3 separate regions of the Homo sapiens genome follow, and regions 1 and 2 are each linked to region 3. Evidence: promoter capture Hi-C in 16 types of primary human blood cells and fetal thymus (Javierre and others, 2016). All regions are on one chromosome and are shown on one strand. The core of a region is centred on a gene start or on the middle of the fragment in contact, and the rest is flanking DNA. Distances in the headings are between cores, read along the strand shown.

The links. Contacts are between HindIII fragments. The CHiCAGO score rates a contact against its expected background, and 5 or more counts as called.
Region 1: a contact is called between the fragment with the promoter of SIN3A here and a fragment that was not itself captured in region 3, in 4 of 17 cell types (naive CD4 T cells, neutrophils, non-activated CD4 T cells and 1 more). The highest score is 7.6, in naive CD4 T cells.
Region 2: the fragment with the promoter of MAN2C1 here is called in contact with a fragment that was not itself captured in region 3 in 1 of 17 cell types (naive CD4 T cells); the score reaches 5.0 in naive CD4 T cells.

The regions. Positions count from the first base shown.
Region 1 is chr15:75,449,077-75,453,348 of GRCh38, reverse strand. SIN3A (SIN3 transcription regulator family member A) reads left to right here and starts at 1,659. Exons shown (of 21, transcript NM_001145358.2): 1 at 1,659-1,926. RefSeq lists enhancers at 125-214, 244-775, 1,005-1,054, 2,765-2,894, 2,322-3,241 and 1 more and silencers at 1,695-1,794, 2,015-2,514. The HindIII fragment of the contact is 8,340 bases long and covers 1-4,272 here.
Region 2 is chr15:75,365,872-75,369,996 of GRCh38, reverse strand. MAN2C1 (mannosidase alpha class 2C member 1) reads left to right here and starts at 1,390. Exons shown (of 26, transcript NM_006715.4): 1 at 1,390-1,514; 2 at 1,799-1,924; 3 at 2,363-2,486; 4 at 3,405-3,475. The coding sequence starts at 1,414. SIN3A (SIN3 transcription regulator family member A) reads left to right here. Exons shown (of 21, transcript NM_001145358.2): 21 at 1-618. RefSeq lists enhancers at 1,215-1,509, 1,194-1,513, 1,085-1,617 and a silencer at 1,644-1,723. The HindIII fragment of the contact is 2,518 bases long and covers 1-1,567 here.
Region 3 is chr15:74,614,442-74,618,803 of GRCh38, reverse strand. It overlaps CLK3-AS1 (CLK3 antisense RNA 1), which reads left to right and starts at 3,012. Exons shown (of 9, transcript XR_007064715.1): 1 at 3,012-4,362. CLK3 (CDC like kinase 3) reads right to left here and starts at 2,968. Exons shown (of 13, transcript NM_001130028.2): 1 at 2,906-2,968. RefSeq lists enhancers at 1,603-2,213, 2,214-2,825 and silencers at 2,914-3,453, 3,874-4,193. The HindIII fragment of the contact is 4,168 bases long and covers 914-4,362 here.

The sequences.
Region 1 (4,272 bases), core at 410-2,909, 840 kb before region 3:
TTTTTAGAGCTCTGTCCTGGGGCAGGGCTTGGCTACTGGCGAGGCTGCTCCCACCTGTCGGCTACCCTTGGAGTTCACAATTCGCTGCTGTGGTTTCGCGGCTCGAAGCCATCGCTGGAGTCAGGCCCACCTGCTGCCAGAGCTCGTTCCTGGCCGTTTCCGCTGGATTGCAGAGGGAGGACAGTGTTGGACCTAGGCGTGGGTTCCCTGGGCGTGTCCCTTGGGGTCTTAGCTCTCTGGGAGGAGGGTTCTACTTATTCGGGAGAGCGGTAACAACGTAATCCCGTCACCTCTCCTGGCGCTGAGAGAGCGCCCCCCAAAGTAAGATCAGCGTCAGGCCCACGCCCTATTTGGTGAATAAATAAAAGCAAACTAGGAATTGAAAGCACTTTGTCTCACTGTGTGTTCGAGGCACTGTTACCTACACAGAGAGGGCACAGGAACTGCTATTAACACTCCCGGCCAAGGAGAAGGTGAACAGCCGTTATCTTATGTCCCCAACTACGGAAATTTTATCCATTCTCTGAGTGTGGCATGTCCCCAATGTTAATTTATGCCGTGGCCTGTTTTGGTGTTTTCCTCTCCTTTCTCAGTTCTGAGGATGCCTCCAGATCCACCCGGGAGATCGTGAGTACCTTGTGCCTCACGCTCCGCCTTCCGGAGGCTTGCCAGGGCGGTGGCTGTTAGAGCCCGCCTCTCTTTTGGTTATCTCCGCCCTCTTAGGACTGCATATTCAGCTCTAGGGAGTTTACTTCTCCGCCTAGGTCTCCAGACCTTAGTTCTGTACTCTACTTGGCTGAAAGGAGTTGCCAGCTGCTCCGGATATTTGTGTTTACAAGGACGCAGTGTGTAGAATGTAAACTGTAAAGATAACTGGACGGAAGGATGAGTTCTCATTCTCTCATTTTTTTTGTGAGGGAGTCCTCCATGGTGGGCTGCCTTTCCTTCAAATCCTAGGATGTGGAGTCTCCGCTGATGAGCTCCGCTCCCCCTCCTATCTCGGGCCCTGGAACTCCGAGCTTCAGTCTCTAGTGTAAACATTCCACAAAAGGACTGCTAAGGTTCAGCCTCCTCGCGCAGGGTGGAATTAGCTCCTTCCTAGACGGGCGCCCTGGCCAATGGAGGGTCCTACCAGCGCCAAGATATCCAATCCGACTCTTGGGGCGGGGCCTGGCCCGGCAGTGCGGTAGGCGGAGCCTGTTTCACTTACAGACATTTTACCCCACATCGGTTACTTACCTTACTGGGGCGGTGGGAGAGCCAGGGGTAGCCTTCCAATGCGATGACCAGCGGAGGCGGGAGCCAACTTGTTAGGCCTGTGGCTGAGACGCTGCAGGGCGGGTTATGTGGTGTCCTCCAATGAGACAGGAAGAGCTTCCCTGCTTCCTCCAATAGTGTTGGGGCTCGGGGGTGGGCTTCAGCAGTCCGTCTCCAATAGGCGGGGTTGAGTTAGGGAAGCTCCCCGCCAATAGGGGCGTGGAGAAGGAGAGCGGCTCCCCCTCCCCTACCAGTCGAGGGGGAAGGGGCGGGAAAATCATAAGACAGGCCTCGGTGGTTGGCTGAGTCTTTGACGGGCGGGTATTGCGTCCTGTATTGGAACGAAGCTGAGTCTTCCCTCTGCGGGGCGGGGTCGGGGGAGTGGGCGGGATTTCCCGGGTAACAGAGAAGCGGCCGCGGCGGTAGAGGCGGCGGAGACGGTTTCTCCATCTTCCCCCCTCCCCTTCCCCCCTCGGAGTTTCCCTCCCTCCCTCCCTCCCTCCTTCCCAGTCTGGGCACCGGAGCCTGTGACCGCTTCGTTAGTGGAGAGGTAGCTGGCAGTCCGCTTCGGCGGGCCTGTGCCCCGCGCCGTTCTCGGGGCCTCCCTGCTGAGCTCGCGGCTCACGCTGAGAGGGACACGCAGTGACGAGCGGCCGAAGCAGCTTTGCGGTGAGAGCACGCTGGGCCGGGGGCCGGGCGGGAGCCTGGTGGCGGGTAACGCCGGACTCGAGGGTGTGTATTTTGGGGGGGGGGGGCTGACCTCCTCGGCTTCCCGTAGAGCAGACGGGCGGGAGGTGTGTGGTTGTGTGAGGGGGGTGGGGGGCGGAGCGGGGTAGCTCTCCGCGCGGGAGGGGGAGGAGAGCGTAGTCCCGGTGCGCGCGGAGGGGGGCGGGCTCTCGCGCCGCCGCTCAGAGGCGGGGCCGGCGCGCGCGTGCGATTGTGGAGAAAGGGGCGGGGCCGGCTTCGCGCTGAGTGCAGTTTGCGGCCGACCACCCCCTCCCCTCCTCCTGGGGTGGGCGGGGCCTCGGGCTGGCGGCCGCGCTCTGGCCTGCTGGGGTCGGGGAGGGGTAGGGGGGGGTCTCCCGCGTGTAGATTCAGGGCGCGGCAGGGAGGGGGCGTGAAGTCTGAGTTCCTCCGCCTTCTTGGGATCCGGTTGGCCGGAGGGGCCGTACTGATCCGTGATGCCACTCCCCTTGGCCGTCCCCCCCTGCACCCCGCCCAGGCCCCGGGTTTCCGCCTCCTTGGCAATGAGGAGGTGCTAGGGAAAGCCCGCTGTCGGGTCTGGCTGGGAGTCTCGGCGCCTAGATCTGCCCCGCCCTATGTCTCCGTGGGGAGGGAGGGGCACCCGCCGACTGGGAGCTGTGGAGGTGTCAGGACTTACTCTTGTGGCTGGGTCATGCCTTCTGCCTGGGGGCACAAGGGCCCTGTGCCGGAGCTGCTTTCTCCGCTTTGCTCCATGCAGCGTGTCTGGCACCGTGCAGCCAGGAGAGTGGGAGCATGGTCACCCCCACTCCCCTCTTGGTTGTAACTATTGGGGCGAAGTGCCCAAGGTCCTCTTGTAGGAGCGTGCGTGGCTGGTGCTGGAACCCTAGATCCGCGGTGGTGATGGTAGGGGAGGGGCAGGGAGTCATCAGAGACTAGAAATGTGGCGGAGGGAAAACCTTCCCTGGGGTTCCCTTGATGTTCAGTTACCGTGGCTGTACGGGGCGGGGCTTCCTTTGAGCCAATGGGTGGTGGGTAGTAGACTTGGCGTCTGTTTCGGTGCGTTAGGACTTTAAACGAAGTTAGCCTTGAAAAGGCAGTGGAAGCTCCTCCTCTTTACAAGGCTGAGATTTATAACAGGAAAGTTTGGATTTACATTTTAATCTCAAAACTGGTCTGTTTATAAAGTAGGGTTTGTTTTTTTTTTTTAAGAACTCAGACTTTGAATAAAATACTCCGATATCTCTGACAGTTGTATTTTTGAATGCTTTCATTGTGCACATGGTTCTGCTATATAAACTTAGTTTCCTGGACGGGCGCGGTGGCTCATGCCTGTAATCCTAGCACTTTGGGAGGCCGAGGCAGGTGGATCACTTGAGGTCAGGAGTTCGAGACCAGCCAGGCTTACATGGCGAAACCCTGTTTCTACTAAAAATACAAAAAAAAGCTGGGCGTGGTGGCAAGCGCCTGTAATCCCAGCTACTGGGGAGGCTGAGGCAGGAGAATCACTTGAACCCGGGAGGCGAGGGTGCAGTGAGCCGAGATGGTGCCATTGCACTGTAGCCTGGGCGACAGGAGCAAAACTCCGCCTCAAAAAACAACCAAAAAAACTTGGTTTCCTAAAGAATTTGCTATTTAGGTAACTATAGGTGAAAAGTCTTTTCTTTTTTATTTTATGTACTTATGTTAGACCATCTAGACCACTTTCTATTTATACTCTACATAGTACAGTGTTGTTGCCCTTTTTATTTCAGAGGAGGGTGGAATTGTGGATCAGGGTAGCCTTCTGTATGTGACTTCTGTAGCGTTGCCCTCCAGCCTGTATTGGAGAGTTGCCTTAGGGCATTTCAGATTTAGATAGCAGAACCACATTAGATGAGGTTTTTGCTTTCACTTGATACATTATCTTTTCCTATTGAGAGAAATTATTTCAATGTTTTTCACATTTTTCATGAGAAAAATAAACATGGAACCAATGTTTATTTATGCAGTAATGTCTAAATGAGCCTCTGGTTAATTATCTGAAGTGAAATTCTAGATTTGTGCTTTGGTTAGTAGGGCCTGAGTGGTACCCTGTGCTATATTTATGTGAAAAGGGTAGGTGGGTCCTACCTTCTCTGCTAAGGAAGTTGCAAAAGCAATAGCATTTTAGTTTAGCAAATGATGGCTGTAATAGAATTGGTGGGGAGACAAAAAATCCAGGTGGTTTTTTCTGATGCCATAAACTGAGAGAGATAGTGGAGAACGATTGACCATTGAGGAAAATTTGGGCTACATATATAGTTCCCATGATTTGCAGTGCTGTATACTGGG
Region 2 (4,125 bases), core at 141-2,640, 750 kb before region 3:
ATTACAGGTGTGAGCCACCCTGGCCTGATTTTAGGCTTTTTTTGTACTGGGGAGAAGAGACTGTGAGCCAAAGTGTAGGGTGCCAAAAAGAGCTTTGTGGGATGAGATTTTAGGGCAAAGCTGGGGCAGTGTCTGACTTGGCGGTGGTCATGTGTACTGATTTAGGGGAAAGATCTTGAGGTTTTCTCAAATAATTCACCTATCCCCGTGTTCCCTCAAGAAAGGTCATGTTGACCTGGAACCATAGGGGAAATTGGTGGGGTGTGATCAGGGTCAGCCCCAGCTGTTGCTGCCCCTGCAGTGTTTTGTCCAGAGCACTTGCCTGCAGGTCAGGATAGGATTTCAAGGCCAGTTCAGGAGAAAGTCCCAACCCACCAGTGCAACCAACAAAAGAGTAAGTTTTACCTACAGCCTGGGTTTTCACAAGTAGCATTTTTATTCCTCCTGCTGTCTGACATCTGAGCTCCAAGCTCTAAACCCAACCTGTATTATATGCAGCAGCAGGTTATCTTTGTTTTAAATCACATTTGTTATTCTGTACTTAGTCACCTTTCCGTGTGATCTGCATTTGAAATGTTGTAAACTTGGTCAGTATTTCCATTAAAATATCAGGGCTAATCTTGTGTATTTTTTTTTGTTCCTAATGATTTTATAGACAAAGACTCTTGGCAACCCCAGGAGAAAAAAAATAAAGCTGTCAGTGGAGTACTAGGGATGAGAATGAAACTGGAGGTCTGTTTCTGGTATTATGGCTTCCCGGGACTCTACAGTCCTGTATGGTGAAATACATTTTTCCATTGGGATCGTCAATGCCATGACTGTTCTGCCACCTCAAACTCCAGAGTTTCTGGTGATGTGCAAGAGTTAGCAATATACATTCAGTAAAGCGTGTAATCGAGTAAGTCGTAGTAACTTGGGCGTAAAGCTCTACCACCCTGCTCACTAACACCCTGATCTCCGTCCGGTATGAAAACACCTATTCCGGGTAGTCTGGCTCCACGTTAAGCAAACACCACTTTCCGTGTTCACCGACAGCTAGAGCCAGAGGTCTCCCGGTTGCTGCTTCTGAGGCTGGGTCTGCAGCAGCTGAGGCTCCCGCCTGTCTTGCCGAATGGCCTAAGTCTCTGTCTTGAGACTTTCGAGAGTTCTAATCGTCAAATTTCCCATTTTATTTTGAGATTTTCCCTGCGGCCCACTATTTCGGACAACATAGGAGAGCCTCAAAAACAGTTTCTAGCTTCCAACTCGGCTCAAAGTTCAGACAGCAGCTGGGCTTCCGAGAGCCGCCGGTGTTCCAAGAAAAGCTGCCCGGGACTGGGAGGCGCCCTCTGGACGCCGGAACCTTTGGTTTCCTGCCGTGGAGCGGAACGGTAGCGCCAGGGGCCTTCCGGAAAGAGGAGCGAGAGCCCGGCGATGGCGGCTGCGCCGGCCTTGAAGCACTGGCGCACCACGCTGGAGCGGGTGGAGAAGTTCGTGTCGCCGCTCTACTTTACCGACTGTAACCTCCGCGGCAGGTGTGGCCCCTGGTCCCCCGCAGCCGGCCGACCGCAACCGTGCGCCTCAAGCTTTCCTTCCGGGGAGAAACCTAAGCTGCAGCCACCCGGGCCGCGGGACAAAGTGCCCGCCGCGGGCAGGGCAGGGGCCGGGGAGGAGGGGGTAGGGAATGGACTGTGCCGCGGAGCGGCCAGGCAGCCCTCTTGGCGGAGGATCCAGGGAAAGTGCGGCCCCACCGGCCAGCTGGCCCCCAGGCGGAAACGGGGCGGCCTCCAGCATGTGCCCACCGGCCCGTCCCACGCAGGCTTTTTGGGGCCAGCTGCCCTGTGGCTGTGCTCTCCAGCTTCCTGACGCCGGAGAGACTTCCCTACCAGGAGGCAGTCCAGCGGGACTTCCGCCCCGCGCAGGTCGGCGACAGCTTCGGACCCACGTAGGTAACGCCCAGCGGGTGGGCGGGGCCACAGGCCTAGGGGAAGTCCCAACCCAGCTCCCAGCCACACCTTCGTTGTCTGCCCTCTGCCGTAGACAACTACGTGGGATCGAGCAGCACCCTCTGCTGGGAGCAGCACCCTCTGCTGGGAACAGCTCTCTGGTCCCTGGGTCTTCAGGGGATGGTTTTCATTCCCACGTGGCCGCCTCTGGACATCCCTTAGGAAGGGCACCCTAGGGATCACGAACCTTTGACGCCTCTGCCTGTTTCCCTCATCTTGCTTCTCACCTTGTTGCTCCTTTCTTGTGACTCAAAGCTGAGTACCTTGTGACACTGCAGATGCTTGGAGAGTTTCAAGCCCCTGCCGACACTTTATCCAAGGAAGGATATCAGGATAGGACTTCTACCTCTAGGCCTATCACAACAGCTCTCTTGCAGATGGTGGACCTGCTGGTTCCGGGTGGAGCTGACCATCCCAGAGGCATGGGTGGGCCAGGAAGTTCACCTTTGCTGGGAAAGTGATGGAGAAGGTCTGGTGTGGCGTGATGGAGAACCTGTCCAGGTGAGGAACCCTGTCCTAGGGCCAGGTATGGCCACATTTCAGCCCTGAAATGACTACAGCCCTTCTTCTGTGGACTCTGGAGAAGCCACAGCTGAGTTGCTCTGCCCACAGGGTGGTATCAGGATTTCAGGACTAGGGAAGTTGCCACTTGGGCATCTGTGCAATTGGTCCTTAGTTTTTATTGTGTATAATACAAACTTATAGGAAAACATTTCAAACAGTTCTAGATAAAGTAATGGATCTCTCCTTATCACCCATCCCATTCCCCAGCTATAACCACTGTTAAGTGTCTTATTCATGCTCCACCCTTATCAGGTTTAGTCCTTATACTCCTATCTAGTAGGTCTTTATACCCATTTACAAATTAAGAAACAGATGTGTAGTTGACTCACTCAGGTTCACACAGCTTCTATTTCAAATTGGACTGACTCTCAATCTGGGGTTAAGACTGTTCTTCCTGGCTACAAGAAGGCAGAGACCATCCCTTCCTCCCTTCACTGGCTCAGCAAATATCTCCTGGTGTCCATTCTGGGCCATACCCTTAAGCACTAGGGTGTAGCAGGGAATGAGGCAAACCTGCCCCTGACTTCACGGAGTTTCTTTCCCGGTATTTATTTAGGGGTGCAGAGGCCACCAGAATCCACACTCAGGCTGCCTAACCCCTTCCCAGGGCCCTTCCCATAAGACCATGGGTTTGCCACTGGTAAACAGGGGCTATTTGACGGTCATGGTGCTGGCTGCCATGGGAGTTGGGGCATCTACTGCCAAGGGTCCCTGATTTGCCAATCTTGGCCCTGCTTGGGAGAGAGGACCCAGAGCTGGGAACCAGATGGAGGGGCCTGACTCCCCATGGCTTACACTTTACCTGAACTGTCCAAAAGCCTCAAGCCTTGTCTCTCTCACTCCCCTCCCTACTAGGGTTTAACCAAAGAGGGTGAGAAGACCAGCTATGTCCTGACTGACAGGCTGGGGGAAAGAGACCCCCGAAGGTGAGTCCCTGTGCCCTGGTTGACCAGTGCTGTCAGGGAGGGAGTACCAGTGAGCAAGGAGGAGCTGAGGCCCAGAGTGATCTCATAAGCCCGCCTCTGCTCTAGCACAATCATCCTCACATCTCATTGTTTGCTTTTAAAAGCATGATTTTTTCCTAACCATAAAAATAATGGGCTGGGTGCAGTGACCCACACTACCCTGGGAGGCTGAGTGGGAGGATCACCTGAGCCCAGGAGGATGAGGCTGCAGTGAGCCATGATCACACCGCTGCACTGCAGCCTGGGCAACAGAGTGAGACCTTGTCTCAAAAATAATAGCAATGTTTGCCTGTGGTAAATACAGGAAAGCACAAAGAAGTAAATAACTACCGTTATTCCACTCCCTAGAATAGAGATGAACATTATTAACATCTCAGCATTCATGTTCTTTTTTTTGAGACGAAGTCTCCCTCTGTCGCCGATGCTGGAGTACAGTAGCACGATCGCAGCTCACTGTACCTTCTGCCTCCCAGGTTCAAGCGATTCTCATGCCTCAGCTTCCCGAGTAGCAGGGATTACAGGTGTGTGCCACCACGTCCAGCTATTTTTTTTTTATTTTTGGTAGAGAAAGGGTTTCACCGTGTTGGCCAGGCTACTCTCAAATTCTTGAC
Region 3 (4,362 bases), core at 1,748-4,247:
TCCCGTGAAGTGAATGCTCTGTAAAGCCAAAGGCCAGGCAAAGGGCTGTACACAGGAGGCGAGGGCTCAAAGCCCTCAAGTTTGAGAAGCTGAACGCTGTCTGGCTAGGGCCCTGAACTGGACCCCACTCAAGGGAGTAAGGACCACAAGTGAGCATGAGGAGCCACAAGAGACTAGAAGAGCAGCCCTTGGAGAAAGAGGCACACAGGCCTCACAAACATTCCATAGCCCTCCTGAGGGTCAACCCAAGGGGACGTGGACCCAGCGCATCTAACTTTCTTTCCAGAGGCCCATTTAGCACCCTTTTAGACCCCCACAGTGCCCTGCCAGGTGCCTTGCCTTTATCCAACAGTACCGTTACTGTCCCTTCTTCTAGCTCTCTGGCTCTAGTATCCTACCCTCCGCCTATCCCAGGATAGCCAGAGGGTTAGCCATCTGGCAGGTAAAAGAGCCCCACCTCACTATCCCTGTTCAGTGAGGACTTATATCCACCAAATGAAATTGCCAGGCTGGATCTGCCACCAGCGGAGAAAGCTGGCCATGTGAGGCCAGCAACCTGCTCCACCCATACGTCAATCCCTGACTGCCTCCATGGAGCCAGCCTTCTTCCCAACACTCACACTTGGCCACAGCCAACCTCCAGTCATGGTCAGTCCTGAGCTTGCCTGGCCAAGCACATTTTGTACAAACCCACTGAGGCTGCCCCATCTCACCAGCAGGGTCTGTCAGGAGAAAAGCAGCATAGAACAGCTCCCCATGCTTGAGCAGGACAGTGAGGCCTATGTGACCAAACCCCTGGGAGCCTCTCCGTGTCCCTAAGAAAGCCCTCCATCTCCCCACTAACTTGTCTTCCCCCGTGTACCTGGGAAGTCTTTGGAGATAAATATTTTGTGAAATCACCTCCCCAAAAGCTTAGATTTGTTGTTTTGGTAATCAGCTGACTAATATTTCACTGTTTTCCTGCAATTACTCTGGGTCAGGTGCCCAAGCTATGGAATGAAAGCAGGAACTCACACCCCACTAATTGACCCAGAAGATGCTCTATTGGCCAGGGCACATGTCGTGCCACAAGGCAAGTATGGTCCTGCCCATCCTCACTGGGCAGACAAACACCAGAGCTGGAGGACACAGTCACAGTCACACCACGCCAAAGACTACCTCCTGGGACCTAGAAGATTCTTATGTCCATACATATTCACATCAATGGAAAACAAAATTTCAGAGTCATATAGATGTCAATCTGAATCATGGCTTGCCACTTCTAGCTGTGTGCCTTTGAACAAATTATTACACTACTCTGACCGTCAGCTTCATCTTGCAACAAGGGAATAGTAATCTCTTACAAGGTTCTGTGAGGATTAAATATCTCTCTCCTATAAGTGAAATGCCTAGCACAGCTTTGTGCCCACAGAGGTACTAGTGGCAGCTTTTCATGAACATCTGAAAGTTCCAGGTAACACTTCAGGGCTGTGTTAAATGCCTTACAGACATTTTATAAGTCCCTTCCAAGGAAACTGGGAGGCAAGAGCTCTGGCAGAAAACTAAACTAAATCCTAGTGCTGTCACATACCAGCCTCATGACCTTAGACAAGTCACTCTAGGCCTTGGTTAGCATGCCTGGAAAATGGAGATAACATCTCTCAGCCTGGCAAAAGAGATGACAAGCATGAGAGTTATAAGGTACCACACACAAAGCAATAACAGAGAAGAGTATCCTTCCTTTAACACATTCTAGGCAAGTAAAATATTGGAAATAGCAGATATCATCCTCCCAGCCAGGGCTCTAGGGCCCATTTCTCAATTATCTCTGATTCTCGAAAACCTCAGCAAACAGCTTGTTTAAAAAGCAGCTAAAGGCCACAATTATGCTTTGGGAAGCTCTGCTCTGCACAATGAGGAAAAAGGTGATATGAAGAAAACCAAGCCAAGGATGTCAACTTTGAGCACAGGCCTTGTCGGCTTCTCATTTGCTGTTCCTGGCCAGAGAACTGGGCTGACTAGAAGTGCAGCCAGCCAGGTCAGCGGCTGCCCTCCCGGATTCCAGCCACCCCAGCACCCATGGTTATTTTTGGCTGGACTGCCCTACCACTGCAACCTCAAACCTGCCACCTCGCAAGCCTCCACCACCAACGGTGAAACGCTCCTCCTTTTCAAGGGCATCAAGAAGGGAAGCTGGAAGGCCGCCAACTCCGCCTCTGATGGGGGCCTGGTTCAGGCAATTTCCACCCCAGCTCCACATCAGGGCACCCACACCCGGAACTAAAGCTAGAGACTCCCGGGCGGGACGGAGGAGCAGCCAGGGGATTTGAACTGTCAGCTTGGCCTAGCCCATCCTCCGGGCTGGAGTGGCTCTACCACCACAACAAAACACACAGGGGAGCCTGCGCCCTCGTTCGCGTCCCTTCCTGCCGCCCCAGGTCCCAGGGGGTCTCAGAGTCCCATCCCCTGTAACCGCCACCAGTGGCGCCGAGGGGAGACCCGGGGACAGAGGGAAAGCCGGACTGGGCCAGAATCAAACTCCAGGCCGCCAAGGGAGGAGTCATCTGCGGACTAAGCCTGAAGCCAGGGGTAGGGGAGGGGTCTGAAGGGCTTCTCTGGCTCTTCTACGTCGGACCCCGACCCCATTCCGCGGGCAGGCACAGAGCCCAAACTGGACCCTTGAGCGGCCCCAGAGGCCGTTCAGGCTCCGCCTTCAACACCGTGGGGTCGAGGTCAGGGTCTGCAGTGACCGCCCTCCGGGGCAGAAGCAGCGGGTCAGGGGTGAGAGGTCGCGGCCCGATATGGGCCGAAGAGGAGAAAGAAAGGGAGTAGGCCGAGACCGAATGGCACCAGCGCGCCTGCCCCGCCGACTCACCCCCGGCCGCCGCCGCCGCTGTCGCCGCCGCGGACCCCAGCCCACACTTACCGTCTCCCAGGCTCCGGCTGCAGCTAGGCCCCACTCCCCGCTCCGAGCGCCTCTTCCGCTTCCGGCTGCGACCTCCGCCCGTGGCAGCCCCGCCCCCTCGCGTGACGCAGCCGTCGCCAGCCTCGGCTCGACCCGGCTCGGAGGCCTGGCCGCTCTAGCCCCCGACTCGAAGGCTCCGGGGCACCAGCCCTCTCCGCTCCGGCGGGCGCCGCGGCCTAGGAGACTAGTTCCGGGAGGGCCGAGGGGACGAGCCTGGCCCGGCCCGCCTCCCGCCGTGTCGCGGCGCACGTAGGTCCCCCGACCTGACAGGTGCGCGGCCCGGGCCGGCTGGGCTCTCAGAGCCGAGAGGTGGGGCCCCGACCTGGCCGTGGGGCTGGGCCCGCTCCGTCGCCCCGACCCCGCGTGGTCCGCCAACTCCCTCCTGCGCGCGGAGAGGACGGGCATTGTTCTCGGGGCCCCGGAGAGCGCGAGAGCGGCCTGAGGTCTGTGTGCCGGAGCTCGGGAAGGCGGACGCGACTCCGCTTGCGCGAAACGAGCGAACGACACATTATTATCTTGGTGTGTGCGGGTTTTTTGAAAGCCGTGGTGGCGCTCCCAGCTCGCCAGTGCGTGCGGGGCAGTTTCTGGGAAGATACCCTAGAGCTACTCTGGCGGGGCCGGAGTCTGGAGGGAGGAGATCCCCTCTCCTTGAGCCCCCTCCTGTGGAGCGGCTTCCTGCCGGCCTGCGTGGCCTCTCAGTTAAGACTCCCCCGCTAGACAAAAGCCCCGCCGGCTGCGTCTCTGGGCCACTGGACAGCCCCCTTTTGCAGAGGCCTCGAGCGTGGGGTCACCAAAATCCCTGACACCTACTGTCCCGCGCCGGGTCGGACAGGATTACGAGGCCCCACTTTCCAGATGAGAAAACTGAGGTGGGGATCTTTTGAGACCTCACTGTGAGCGTGCGCGTCCCGCCCGGTCTGGGAGTGGCGTCCCCGGCCTCGCGAGCGTCGCGCAGTGAAGCGACAGGGCGTGGCGCCTAATTGTCCCCACGCCACGCGAGGGCTAGAAACCCGCAGTCGGGGCGGACCATCCCTCCAGGCACCGCCCCCTCCTTGGGACCGCTCCGCGGGGGCGCCAAGGGTTTCCCCAGCACCGCCCCGGCGGCCGCCAGCCAGCCGCGGCCCCGCCCATGCCCCTCCCCGCGGGTCTGGGCCCGCCCCTGAAGCGGGGAGGTGTCGCAGGGGAGCCCCCCGCTTCCGAGCTGCGGCTGCGCATCAAGTCCTTCGCCAGCGGCTCTCCCTGAAACGGGGGGTTTCAAGGCGTGATTTGTAGGGGTGTTTAGTATCCCCTAAATCTCTGCCAGCTCCACCATGGCTATCCGAAGTAAACAACAGAAGCTAATTCAAAACTGGGTCCCCTTCCAAAAAATTACAAAAATTAGCCGGACTGGGTGGCGCATGCCTGTAGTTCCAGCTCCT